4 separate regions of the Homo sapiens genome follow, and all the other regions are linked to region 1. Evidence: promoter capture Hi-C in human tissues and cell types (Jung and others, 2019). All regions are on one chromosome and are shown on one strand. The core of a region is centred on a gene start or on the middle of the fragment in contact, and the rest is flanking DNA. Distances in the headings are between cores, read along the strand shown. Region 1 holds the start of CABLES1 (Cdk5 and Abl enzyme substrate 1). Region 2 overlaps ANKRD29 (ankyrin repeat domain 29). Region 3 overlaps RBBP8-AS1 (RBBP8 antisense RNA 1). Region 4 overlaps RIOK3 (RIO kinase 3).

What was found. The method cuts DNA at HindIII sites, captures the fragments that hold promoters and counts their contacts. A contact is called where the count stands out against the background at its distance.
Region 2: a contact is called between a fragment that was not itself captured here and the fragment with the promoter of CABLES1 in region 1, in 2 of the 25 tissues and cell types used here (hippocampus and lymphoblastoid cells).
Region 3: a contact is called between a fragment that was not itself captured here and the fragment with the promoter of CABLES1 in region 1, in 4 of the 25 tissues and cell types used here (H1 embryonic stem cells, IMR-90 fibroblasts, bladder and 1 more).
Region 4: a contact is called between a fragment that was not itself captured here and the fragment with the promoter of CABLES1 in region 1, in 1 of the 25 tissues and cell types used here (aorta).

The regions. Positions count from the first base shown.
Region 1 is chr18:23,134,121-23,136,820 of GRCh38, reverse strand. It overlaps CABLES1 (Cdk5 and Abl enzyme substrate 1), which reads right to left and starts at 1,336. Exons shown (of 10, transcript NM_001100619.3): 1 at 214-1,336. The coding sequence starts at 1,058. RefSeq lists silencers at 468-717, 818-1,027, 1,158-1,367, 1,488-1,567, 2,328-2,437 and 2 more and an enhancer at 1,988-2,137. The HindIII fragment of the contact is 17,284 bases long and covers 1-2,700 here.
Region 2 is chr18:23,616,273-23,618,972 of GRCh38, reverse strand. ANKRD29 (ankyrin repeat domain 29) reads left to right here. Exons shown (of 10, transcript NM_173505.4): 8 at 1,146-1,241. Among named protein-coding and RNA genes, the nearest start is that of NPC1, 31 kb to the right of the region's middle. The HindIII fragment of the contact is 7,344 bases long and covers 1-2,700 here.
Region 3 is chr18:22,838,824-22,841,523 of GRCh38, reverse strand. The region is part of intron 2 of RBBP8-AS1 (RBBP8 antisense RNA 1); the gene reads left to right. Among named protein-coding and RNA genes, the nearest start is that of RBBP8, 93 kb to the left of the region's middle. The HindIII fragment of the contact is 7,194 bases long and covers 1-2,700 here.
Region 4 is chr18:23,467,577-23,470,276 of GRCh38, reverse strand. The region is part of intron 7 of RIOK3 (RIO kinase 3); the gene reads right to left. Among named protein-coding and RNA genes, the nearest start is that of RIOK3, 16 kb to the right of the region's middle. The HindIII fragment of the contact is 5,305 bases long and covers 1-2,700 here.

The DNA of each region.
Region 1 (2,700 bases), core at 87-2,586:
TGGGCTCGTGCAAACACGTGTAACCCCGCACTCCCTGGGGACGCCCCCTCTTTTGGGTGCCCTCGTGGTTTGGGATTCGGGCCCGGAGCACAGGATCCGGCAGGGCGCGGGAAAATGGGAGCAACCCGTGTCCCGTAGCCCAGAGACCGCGGGGAGGCTGGGAGCGCCGGGCGGGACGCAGGGTTGGGTGCGCGTCGCATCCCGGATACTCACCGGGACCTCTGCAGCTGCTCGAAGGCGCTGGTGCTGCCGCCCTGGCCTGGCTGCTCCAGGGAGCAGTAGTTCTGCGAAGTCGGCCTGGAGAAGGCGATGGGCAGGATTCCCTGAGTGAACGAGTTGAGGCGTCCCCGACTGCCGCTCCCACTCCCGGGGGTCCCGGAGCCCAAAAAGGCGGCCGCCGGCACCTGCACGCTGATAAAGGCATCGTCCTCCTCCAACTCCTCCTGCCCGGCGGCCCCGGACCCGTCGAGCAGCTGCAGTTGGGCACAGGCGGCGAGAGGCGCCGGCCGGGGCGGCTGCCACTGCTCCCCCGACGCCCGGCCGGCGCCCAGGGGACTCGCGAACCCCCGCGCCACCCCGGGGCCGGACACGGTCGCATGGCCGCCAGGAATCAAGGGCGGCAGCGACGAGGGCTGTGGGAGGCAGGGGCCGGACCCAGCGGCTAACCCCGCAGCCGGCGTGCCCGGCGCGGCGAGCGCGATGCAGCCGCCCCGCTCGGCAGCGGCGAGCAAGCTGAACCGAGTCCTCGCGCCGCAGGCGCCGCCGGCGCCCGGCTTGGCCGCGCCGCCCTCCTCGCCACCGCCCCACTCCGCGTCCTGCGGCGGCAGCCGGCCGTCCAGCGAGATGTTGGTGAGGAAGGAGAGGGCAGCCTGGCGGCGCCGCGGGTCCATGCGCGGCTTCCGGGGGGGTTCGGGCGGCGGCTGGGCCGGCGCGGCGGCCGCGGGCTGAGGCTGGGGCTGCGGCGGCGGCTGCTGCAATCCGCTGGCGCCCGCGGCGTCGGTGCCGGCGCTGCCGCTGCTGCAGGCGGCCGTGGTGGCGGCCGCCGCCGCCGCCGCCATTGTGTCCGTCTGCGGCGGGATTTCCGCGATGCCCGGAGAAGCGAGCGGCGCCCGAGCGCTAAGCGGCGGGCGCGAGCGGCGGCGACCCGGGCTGGGTAGGGCGCGGGGATCGGGCGGCGTGCGCGGCGGTCCAGCCCCCCCGCGGGCGGGCCATGCTCGCCCCTCGGTGCTGGGGATGGGGGCGCCGCCGCCCCGGCCCACGCGCACGCCTCGCTACCTAGCTCGGCTAGTTCGGCTCGCTGGCTGGCCGCCCGCCGGTCGCCTGGCCGCTGGCTCGCGGGCTCCGGGGCCGGGTGTCCGTATTTATAGGTGCGCGCGCCCCGCGCTCGCGCTCCAAAGCCCTCTTTGCAATAACACGGAATCACGTGTGGGGAATGCGACCTGGGAGGAAAACAAAGCCGCAGGCGGCGGCCGCAGAGGCAGACGGCGGGAGGCAAGGGGCCACGGGAGGAGGAAGAGGAGGACGCGAGAGCCGAGCGGGTGGTGGGGCGGGGGATCGGCCCGGCTGTCCGGGTTGTCGGAGCTGCCTGCTGGGAGAGTTGGCGACTCCCGGGGCCGCGGAAGCCAGGTGCGGGAGGCGAGCACGTTTCCCCCGCGCGCTCGCACTGGGAATTGGGTGAGCGAGCAGAACCCGGTGGGTTAGGTCCTGGGGCTGTGCTCCTGGGAGAGTTGTGGGTCTACAGGACGGTTATGTGGAGCGTTGCAGAGTTTTGGACTGCGAGCGAGTTACTTGGACCCCGCAAGGCCGTTGGTCCCCGAGAAGTAAATAGATCCTTTTCATAATAACACGGGTAAGTCCACAGCCCCTATGGAGACTGTCCCACCGTAAAGCTATCGCTAACAACCATTGCAGTTGGGTCTATTCATTCCCAGGCCAAGGATGCAGCCCCCGGGATAAATGCACGCCTTGGGATGCATAAGAGCCCAGAAGCACGAACATCTTACATGTGGCCAACGAACTCACGCATCCCCAATCCATGGTATTGTCACTTTTCATCTCTCTCTTAGCAAAGGACAACGCAAATTTTTTACTTTGGCTCTGAAATGTGCTCCATTTTCTGTGAAGACCCAGGTGGGCTAAAATGACCTTACACTCTTTTCCCCTGGTCACCTTGCAAATTTTTGTAGATTATGATCTCTTCTCCCTCATAAACTGGGACCAATGTGGACAGTTACCCTGTCGTTTATCTCATAAGCACGTTTGGCACCTACCATGTCTTCTATAAATACGGGTTCCTGACGGCCCTCCCAGAGCAGTAGCTCTGAATCTGGGAGGAGTCGCAGTCCCCACCCACAACGAATGCTTGTTTTGGTTGGGGGTGGGGGCGGGGGCGGGGACAGGGTGGAGGAGTTCACCTGGAGGGATCTGAAAACGTGTGCGGGTTTCCCCAGGCGGTATGGGCAACTTAACAAATGCAGTAAGGAACAATTGCCACACTGAATTAAGCTCTGTGACACCTAAGAAACCTGCTGCACTTTTGAGGGAGAAGCAATGTGTTTCAGATCAACGGATTAATTTAATTAAAGGTTTAAATTTAGCCCTGGAGCTAATGGGTAACTCTACATTGAAATTCCACTCCATTTCAAGTTCAGGAAAGTAAATTGAGTAATGGAGAGCAAATACACCGTCCAGAGAGGTGCC
Region 2 (2,700 bases), core at 67-2,566, 480 kb before region 1:
CCCTTGCTTACGTAACCCACCTTCCCCTCTCCAAGTCTAAGCTCCAAAAAAGGGAAATCACCAGACGCGTTCGCCACCATTTCACTGCCCTCTCTCTCACTCTTCTTCTTCCCACAATCTCTGAAGCCAGAAAAGACCCCCACCCCCCGCCCCCCAATTCATTCTTCCTTCTTTCTGATTACAGATAAACCCTAATGGCAGGCCGAAGTGGTTTCTTGGCTACGGGAGAATTATGGACTAAATCCTCCAAACACAGCGACTGATATGTGAAAATGGGAGAAAAAGGAATTTGGAAACTGTGTTCTTGAGCCAAAAAATAACGACAGAAGCTAAATATTAATTTTTGAATTTGGCTTTTCATTCTTTTTAGCAGATTTTATTTTATTTTTTTCTGAGACAGAGTCTCACTCTGTCACCCAGGCTGGAGTGCAGTGGCACGGTCTCAGCTCACTGTAACTTCCGCCTCTGGGTTCAAGTGATTCTCGTGCCTCAGCCTCCCGAGTAGCTGGGACTACAGGCACGGGCTACCACACCCGGCTATTGTATTTTTGGTAGAGACGGGGTTTCAAGTGACCCTCCTGCCTTGGCCTTCCAAAGTGCTAGAATTACAGGCGTGAGCCACTGCACCTGGCCTTTTAGCAGATTTTAATCTATCACCTCTGCCCCTAAGCCCCACTACCCACACACGGGCGGATGCCTAGAGCAGACTAGGGCAAGGCTGTATAAATTTTTTTAGAAACAGTAAATACAGCTCAACAATGATCTAAATTATTAAAGACAGTTAACCATTTCTGCTAAGTTATGAACAGCCGAGAATGCCTCTTTGGTCCAACCATGGCCTAAAAATATGCTCTTGAAATTCCCCTTGTCCCCTGCCCAGTGTTCTCAGGAACTGTAGAAGTATGAATTCCCAAATGGCAGAGTTCTAACATAATCTAAGTCACTGTTTATCTGATACTCTTTCATGCAGAATTTACTGCTTAATATTCTCTAAAATGCTCCTAGATTAAGAGACATTGCTGATCTGTGCTTAATTTACACGTCATTAGTTTCTGACAACGGTACTTTCCAGTTCCCAACTGACTGCTTTCAAGCAACACAGATATATGTTAATAATCAACTTTTATTTTCCTCTTTCTGTTAAGGATGGCACAACAGCATTATTGAAAGCAGCCAACAAAGGGTATAATGATGTCATAAAAGAGTTGCTTAAATTCTCACCCACTCTTGGTATTTTGAAGGTAAGACCTAAAGATAAATTTTACTAATCTGTAAGAGAGAGGTTAGAAAGTAAGTCCTCACTTGGGGACTGTGTCGAATTTGGGTGCAGTTAGCCTGGTTAGTTGGATTCTTGAAAGAACACACCTGCAGCTTCTTGATGCTGGAGATCCCAGGGGCTCTGGTAGAAGTGGGGAGGTGGTAGAAAGAGTGAACCACAGTCTGTCATTACCTAGTTTTGCAGAAAAAAAAAAATCGACAGTAGTAATGAAATAGCTAATTGGAAAGTATGCCATTTTGACACCATTTGGAGGATTTGTGAAATCAAGGAAGAAGAACAGACACTTATGTCTGTTCTCTTCATTTTCTTAAGCAAAGAACCACTCTGTTTTGTTCCCTTAAGTGAAATAAAATAAGCCTCAAACACCTGGAAGCCTCAGAAAATATGTCAGTATGGATACCTGGGTCACCTAAAAAACAGAGCCAAAACTCTTTTTTTAAGTTTTGATCTTTTTGTTTTGTTTTGTTTTGCTTTTTTGAGATGGAGTCTCCCTTTGTAGCCCAGACTGGAGTGCAATGGCACGATCTCGGCTCACTGCAACCTCTGCCTCCCAGGTTCAAGTGATTCTCCTGTCTCAGCCTCCCAAGTAGGTGGGATTACAGGCACGCTGCCACCACACCCAGCTTTTTGTATTTTTAGTAGAGACGGGGTTTCACCATATTGGCCAGGCTGGTCTTGAACTCCTGACCTCAAGTGATCCACTTGCCTCAGCCTCCCAAAGTGCTGGGATTACTGGCATGAGCCACCCTATCTGGCCTAAATTTTGATCATTTTTGATTAAAATATTTCTAACCTATATTATATATCAGGAGTCAGCAAACTTTTTCTGTAAAGTCTTAATAAATATTAGTATTTCTGTTTACTAATATAATTATATTATTGATTATATTAATTTTATTATATTATATTATTTATTATATTAATAGTAATGCTTACTAACATTTTAGTAAATATTACTAAATAGTAAATAGTAATAAATATTACTAATTACTAATATATTTACTACAGTAAAGATATATTTATTAATATATAAATATTACTATAGGAAATATATACTACAGAATGTATTTACTATACACTATATATATAGTATATATAGTATATATATATATATACTGTATATATAGTGTATATATATATATACTATATATATATAGTATAAATTTACATTTTTTCAGAGACAGGGTTTCACTCTGTTGCCCAAGCTTGAGTACAGTGATGCAATCATAGCTCACAGTAATCTTGAATTCTTGCGCTCAAGTAATCCTCCTGCCTCGGCTGGGACTACAGCCACACACCACTGCACCCATCTAATTTTTAAATTTGTTGTAGAGATAGGGTCTCACTATATTGTCCAAGCTGGTCTCAAACTCCCAGCCTTAAGCAATCCTCCTGCCTTGACCAGGAGGCATATTAGTATA
Region 3 (2,700 bases), core at 18-2,517, 300 kb after region 1:
AGTACAGACAGGGTTTCACCGTGTTGATCAGGCTGGTCTAGAACTCCTGACCTCAGATGATCCACCCGCCTCGGCCTCCCAAAGTGCTGGGATTACAGGTGTGAGCCAGCACACCTGTTGTTTTTTCAAATGCCTGAATGATTGGAACTGAATGATTGTTCCCTTCCACCGGGACATTTTCTCAGGTCATTGTGGGTGAAATCTTGAGCAGTTGGGCCCCTACCTTGGGCCAGGGACTATCTGTACCCTACCTACCACACAAGATGGCCCCCACTTAATCTAATGTTGGGTGAGTGAGCCAATCCCAAATCCCCATCTTCCTGCCTGTTTTCTCACACCACTCTGTGTACCACCTGTTTTGATTTGGACCCATTCCAAATAAATCTCAAGCTAGGATTAGATATGAAAGAGATTACTGAAGGAGGGAGCAGGAGGAGGTGGAGAGAAACTTCAGAACCACAGTGTAGCAAAGAAGAAGGAAAGTAGCAGGATTGGGTAGGATGGGTCTCAGACTGCCATGTAGTGCTAAGAAAGTTTGGCCAGGTCGATGGTGAGTCCTAAAATAGAAGTTACTCAGGAGTCCTGTATATTGCCAGAATGGGCCTGCCTTAGTATCTGCTGTGCTCTATCATTGGCTAGGAAGTATGGCCTTCGGGTAGATGCAGTGCTGCATCCAGAGGGACAGGATCAATTAAGCTGTCTCCAACAGGAGGTCTGAGAGGAGCATTTTCATGACTACAACACACAGCAACCCAGCTGCTAATGATTATAGGCTTCGTGGGTTAGACATATTTGTGTTTTACAGTTGAAAACAGCTGAGAGGAAATAGGCTTAGTAGGTACTTCTGGAACTTCATTTAGATAAACACTTTGCATTTTTAATTTTAAAGAATGTTAGACATATTTGTGTTTTACAGTTGAAAACAGCTGAGAGGAAATAGGCTCAGTAGGTACTTCTGGATCTTCATTTCGATAAACACTTTCCATTTTTAATTTTAAAGAATAAGGCAAACTAAATACATCTGAACAGTTTACATCATAGTTAAGTGGAATAACAAGTCTGGCACAGGTTAGATAATTCAGACCACAAATTCCCATTCTCTCTGGTTCCACAGTGGCTTTTTGGATCTGTGAAATATAGAGGTGTCATTTTGTGGACAGGTGTGCCTTGGCATAACAATGCTTTAGCTCATACAGATGATCACACACTACCAATATCATTGAGTAATTTTGGATTGAGTGGTCGGTCTGAGGTAGATTCACGCTCCCTGGTCTGTAGTGCAGTGTGATTGCTTCATGACACCTGCATTATACAAGTGTTTTTATCTTCTGAGTAGCTATTTGCCTTGCGTTTCCTCATGCCTATATTTATTTCTCTCTTTTTACATCTCAGGGGTGTTAGAATGTAAATTCCCAGACAATACATAAAAACCCGATAATTTATCAATGAGACTGATAATAATGATGCTATTTGACATTTGGCAACATAGGGGGTTTTCTTGGCTCACGTTGGGTATCTTGAACCTATGCCCTATTAGGTAACTTTCTTAAACTGCCTGGAGTATATGCTTTTTTCTCTGTTATCTCAATGAATCATTCTTCTAATGTCTCTTCAAGTTTATTTCCTCTGTTGGTATCTCTCTTTTGTCCCTCATTTGGCATTTTGGGGGTAATGATAAATGTTGGGTGGAAAAAATAAGAAAGGTGGAGCAAAGCTTTGCATATGCTCATTGCATTTTTGGAGCCCGTTTACTCTTATTGTATCATCAGGAAAAATTCCTAGGATGCTTGTATGGCTAAGGTAAGTCAGATAACTTGATACCTATTCATCTCCAAAGGTATCTTGGATTTATAATGGAGATAAGGCAGAGAAAGGAGAGATTACGTTAGTGACCCCTGTTCAGGGCTGTGGGAGTTCCCTGAGTCTAATGAACAGCTATATCATCTTAAGATCAAAACAGAAACTATAGGCTTAAAGGTCAGCAGTCAGGATATGCAGGAGTCTGTAAGCTGGTAAGCACTACTAAGCTTGAGTTTTCAAGCTGTACTCAACAGGGATATAGAATATTTATAGTTTTTTGAAGCTTATTTATCTTTTGTGACATACTTAAGACCTTCCTGTGATCTGACAGTGTATCATAAAGCATTTTAATGCATTTTCTTCTCAATTTATTTTTATTGGTAATTCAAATTGTGTAAGCAAGGAGGTATATTGAAAAAAAACAGTTCTAAAGAGATTGAGAAGACTGCCTTAAAGATTTAATCACCTTAGTTTTCTAGGAGGGTTCTGGCTGTCAGACGGTTTCATCTCATGAGCCTCTCTGCCTACAATTACGTTTCCTTTCTGTAACTGAAATGCAGGTTCAGTCAATCTCTGCTTTCAGAGTCTGATTAACAAGAGCGAGATCTAGTATAAAGAAAGTGATTTTTTATTCTGAAACTAGCTTAGGGGAAGAAGTACAGGCTTCCTGCCTTAAGGGTGTGGCTTCGCTTTTGGAGCAGAAAGTGAGTGCTTTTAAAGGGGAGCTTATGAAGGGGCAGAAATGAGCAGGGTGGTGGGGGAGTGGTCCACATACTCACTTCAGTGCCTTATCTGCCAGGCAGCTGGTGTTTTCATGGGCAGAAATAGGTTGTAAGAGTGGTTGAAAACTCTCCAGGTGGGAGAGAGTTTCGTAGCAGGGGTACTTTGGGCTGTAAATTG
Region 4 (2,700 bases), core at 144-2,643, 330 kb before region 1:
CTCCTGCCTCAGCCTCCCAAGTAGCTGGGAGTACAGATGCCCGCCACCATGCCCGGCTAACTTTTTTGTATTTTTTAGTAGAGACGGAGTTTCACCGTGTTAACCAGGATCGTCTCGATCTCCTGACCTCGTGATCCGCCCCCATCGGTCCTCCAACGGATTTCTTTTTTTAACCTATTTTTAAAATCCAGATTGAGATCCAACTTCATTATGATATCTTCCCTGAATGTGCCTGGCAATGATCTTGTTCTATTCGCTATTCCTATCCCATATAAGGTCTCGTTTGCATAACTGGGTACTCTATTATGTAATTATCTTTCATTGACCATAATGGTTCTTACTGTAATGTTCTCCTTTTAGCTAAAGCTTAAGCTCTTTGAGAGTAAAAAATATGTCTTATATTTTATTCCCTGAGTAATCTAGCACAAATTACTGTTTGAATAATTGTTGATTGCCTGACCAACCTGAGAGTGACAGAAACCAGAGCTTTGACCCAGGCACAGTGGCCCACGCCTGTAATCCCAGCACTTTGGGAGGCTGAGGCAGTTGGATCACAAGGTCAGGAATTTGAGACCAGCCTGGCCAAAATGGTGAAACCCCGTCTCTACTAAAAATACAAAAATTAGCCGGGCATGGTAGTGTGTACCTGTAATCCCCGCTACCGGGGAGGCTGAGGCAGGAGAATCACTTGAACTTGGGAGGTAGAGGATGCAGTGAGCCAAGATTGCGCCATTGCACTCCAGCCTGGGTGACAGAGCAAGACTCCATCTCAAAAAAAAAAAGAAAGAAGGAAAGAAAAAGAAAGAAAGAAAGAAAAAGAGAGAGAGAGAGAGGAGAGAGGAGAGGGAGAGAGAGAGAGAGAGAGGAGAGAGGGGAGAGAGGAGAGAGGGGAGGGAGGGGAGGGAGGGAGGGAGGGAGGGAGAGAGGGGGAGAGAGGGGGAGAGAGAGAGAGAGAGAGAGAGAGAGAGAGAGGAAGAAAGAAAGGAACCAGAGCTTTGTGGAAAGCAAAACTCCCAGCCCCCTTGGTGTGCACACCCCTGTATAATACCTCCTTCCCTTGAGCATGTGTGGGATAGCCACTCCCTGGTTAGGTTATGTGGCAAAGGTGATGGTCTAGTCATTCCCATGATAACATAACACTAAGTCTCAGTCTTAGCAGACTGGAGAGATTCTCCTGCTGGCTTTGAAAGTGTGAGAGCTAGTGTGTGAAGAGGCCTGTGAGACGGCCCCATGGCAAGGAACTGCAGGGGCCTCAAGGAGTTGAGAGCAGCCCACTGCTGACAGCCAACAAGAAAGTGGGACCTCAGTCGTATAGCTGCAACTGAAAGGTGGCCAAGGGAAGAGGACGCCAAGCTCCAGAAAGGAACACAGCCTGGCCAACACCTAGACTGCAGGCTTGTGAAACCCTGAACAGAGAACCTAGTTAAGCCATGCCTGGATTCTGTCAACAGAAACTATGAGATAATAAATGGATGCTGTTTTGGCTGCTAAGTCTGTGGCAATTTATTATGTACCACAGAAAACTAACAAACTTTTAAAAGCATTAACTTTTAGCTGTAGAAAACTGAATGTTCTCTAGTTTTGCTAACTTAGAAATGTCAAAGTACAGATTATGATACCAATTCCACCAGAAAGACTGAACATTTATTATATTAGAGTATATTAAGTATACCAGGCCAGGCGCAGTGGCTCACGCCTGTAATCTTGGCACTTTGGGAGGCCAAGATGGGTGGATCACCTGATGTCAGGAGTTTGAGACCAGCCTGGCTAACATGGTGAAAGCCCATCTCTACTAAAAACACACAAATTAGCCAGGCGTGGTGGTGCGTGCCTGTAATCCCAGCTACTTGGGAGGCTGAGACAGGAGAATCGCTTGAACTCAGGAGATGGAGGTTGCAGTGAGCTGAGATTGCGCCATTGTACTCCACCCTGGGCAACAAGAGCAAAACTCCATCTCCCAAAAAAAAAAAAAAAAAAAAAAAAGGAGTATATTGAGTATAACAGAAAATGGACAAAGGATAAACAAGAGAGAAGACAAGAAAAAGAAATACAAATGGCCAATAAAGCACTTGGAAAAAATGTACAACTTAATCATAATTAAATAAATGCACACCAAAATACCAAGATGTTACTTTTCATCTCTCACACTGACAAAAAGCATTAGATTTGATAATACTAAACACTGATAAAGATGAGGAAGCCCGGAAGCAGTGGCTCACGCCTGTAATCCCAGCACTTTGGGAGGCCAAGGCGAGTGGATCACCTAAGGTCAGGAGTTTGAGGACAGCCTAGCCAACATGGCGAAACCCTGTCTCTACTAAAAATACAAAAATTAGCCAGGCGTGGTGGCATGTGCCTGTAATCCCAGCTACTCTGGAGGCTGGGATAGGAGACCTTGCTTGAACCCGGGAGGCAGAGATTGCAGTGAGCCAAGATCACGCCACTGCACTCCAGCCTGGGGAACAAGAGTGAAACTCCATCTCAAAAAATAATAATAATAATAATAATAATATACGCATTGAAAAAAACTGGAGAAGTCTACCCAAAATTATTAATGATTATCTCTGGGTGGTGGTATTAGGATGACTGTGTTTTTTATACATTCCTATACTGCCTAGACTTTCTACAATAACACTTTAAAAATTACTCTGCTTGCCATGCAGCATTATCTTTGATTCTGTGTAAATTCATTAATCTTGG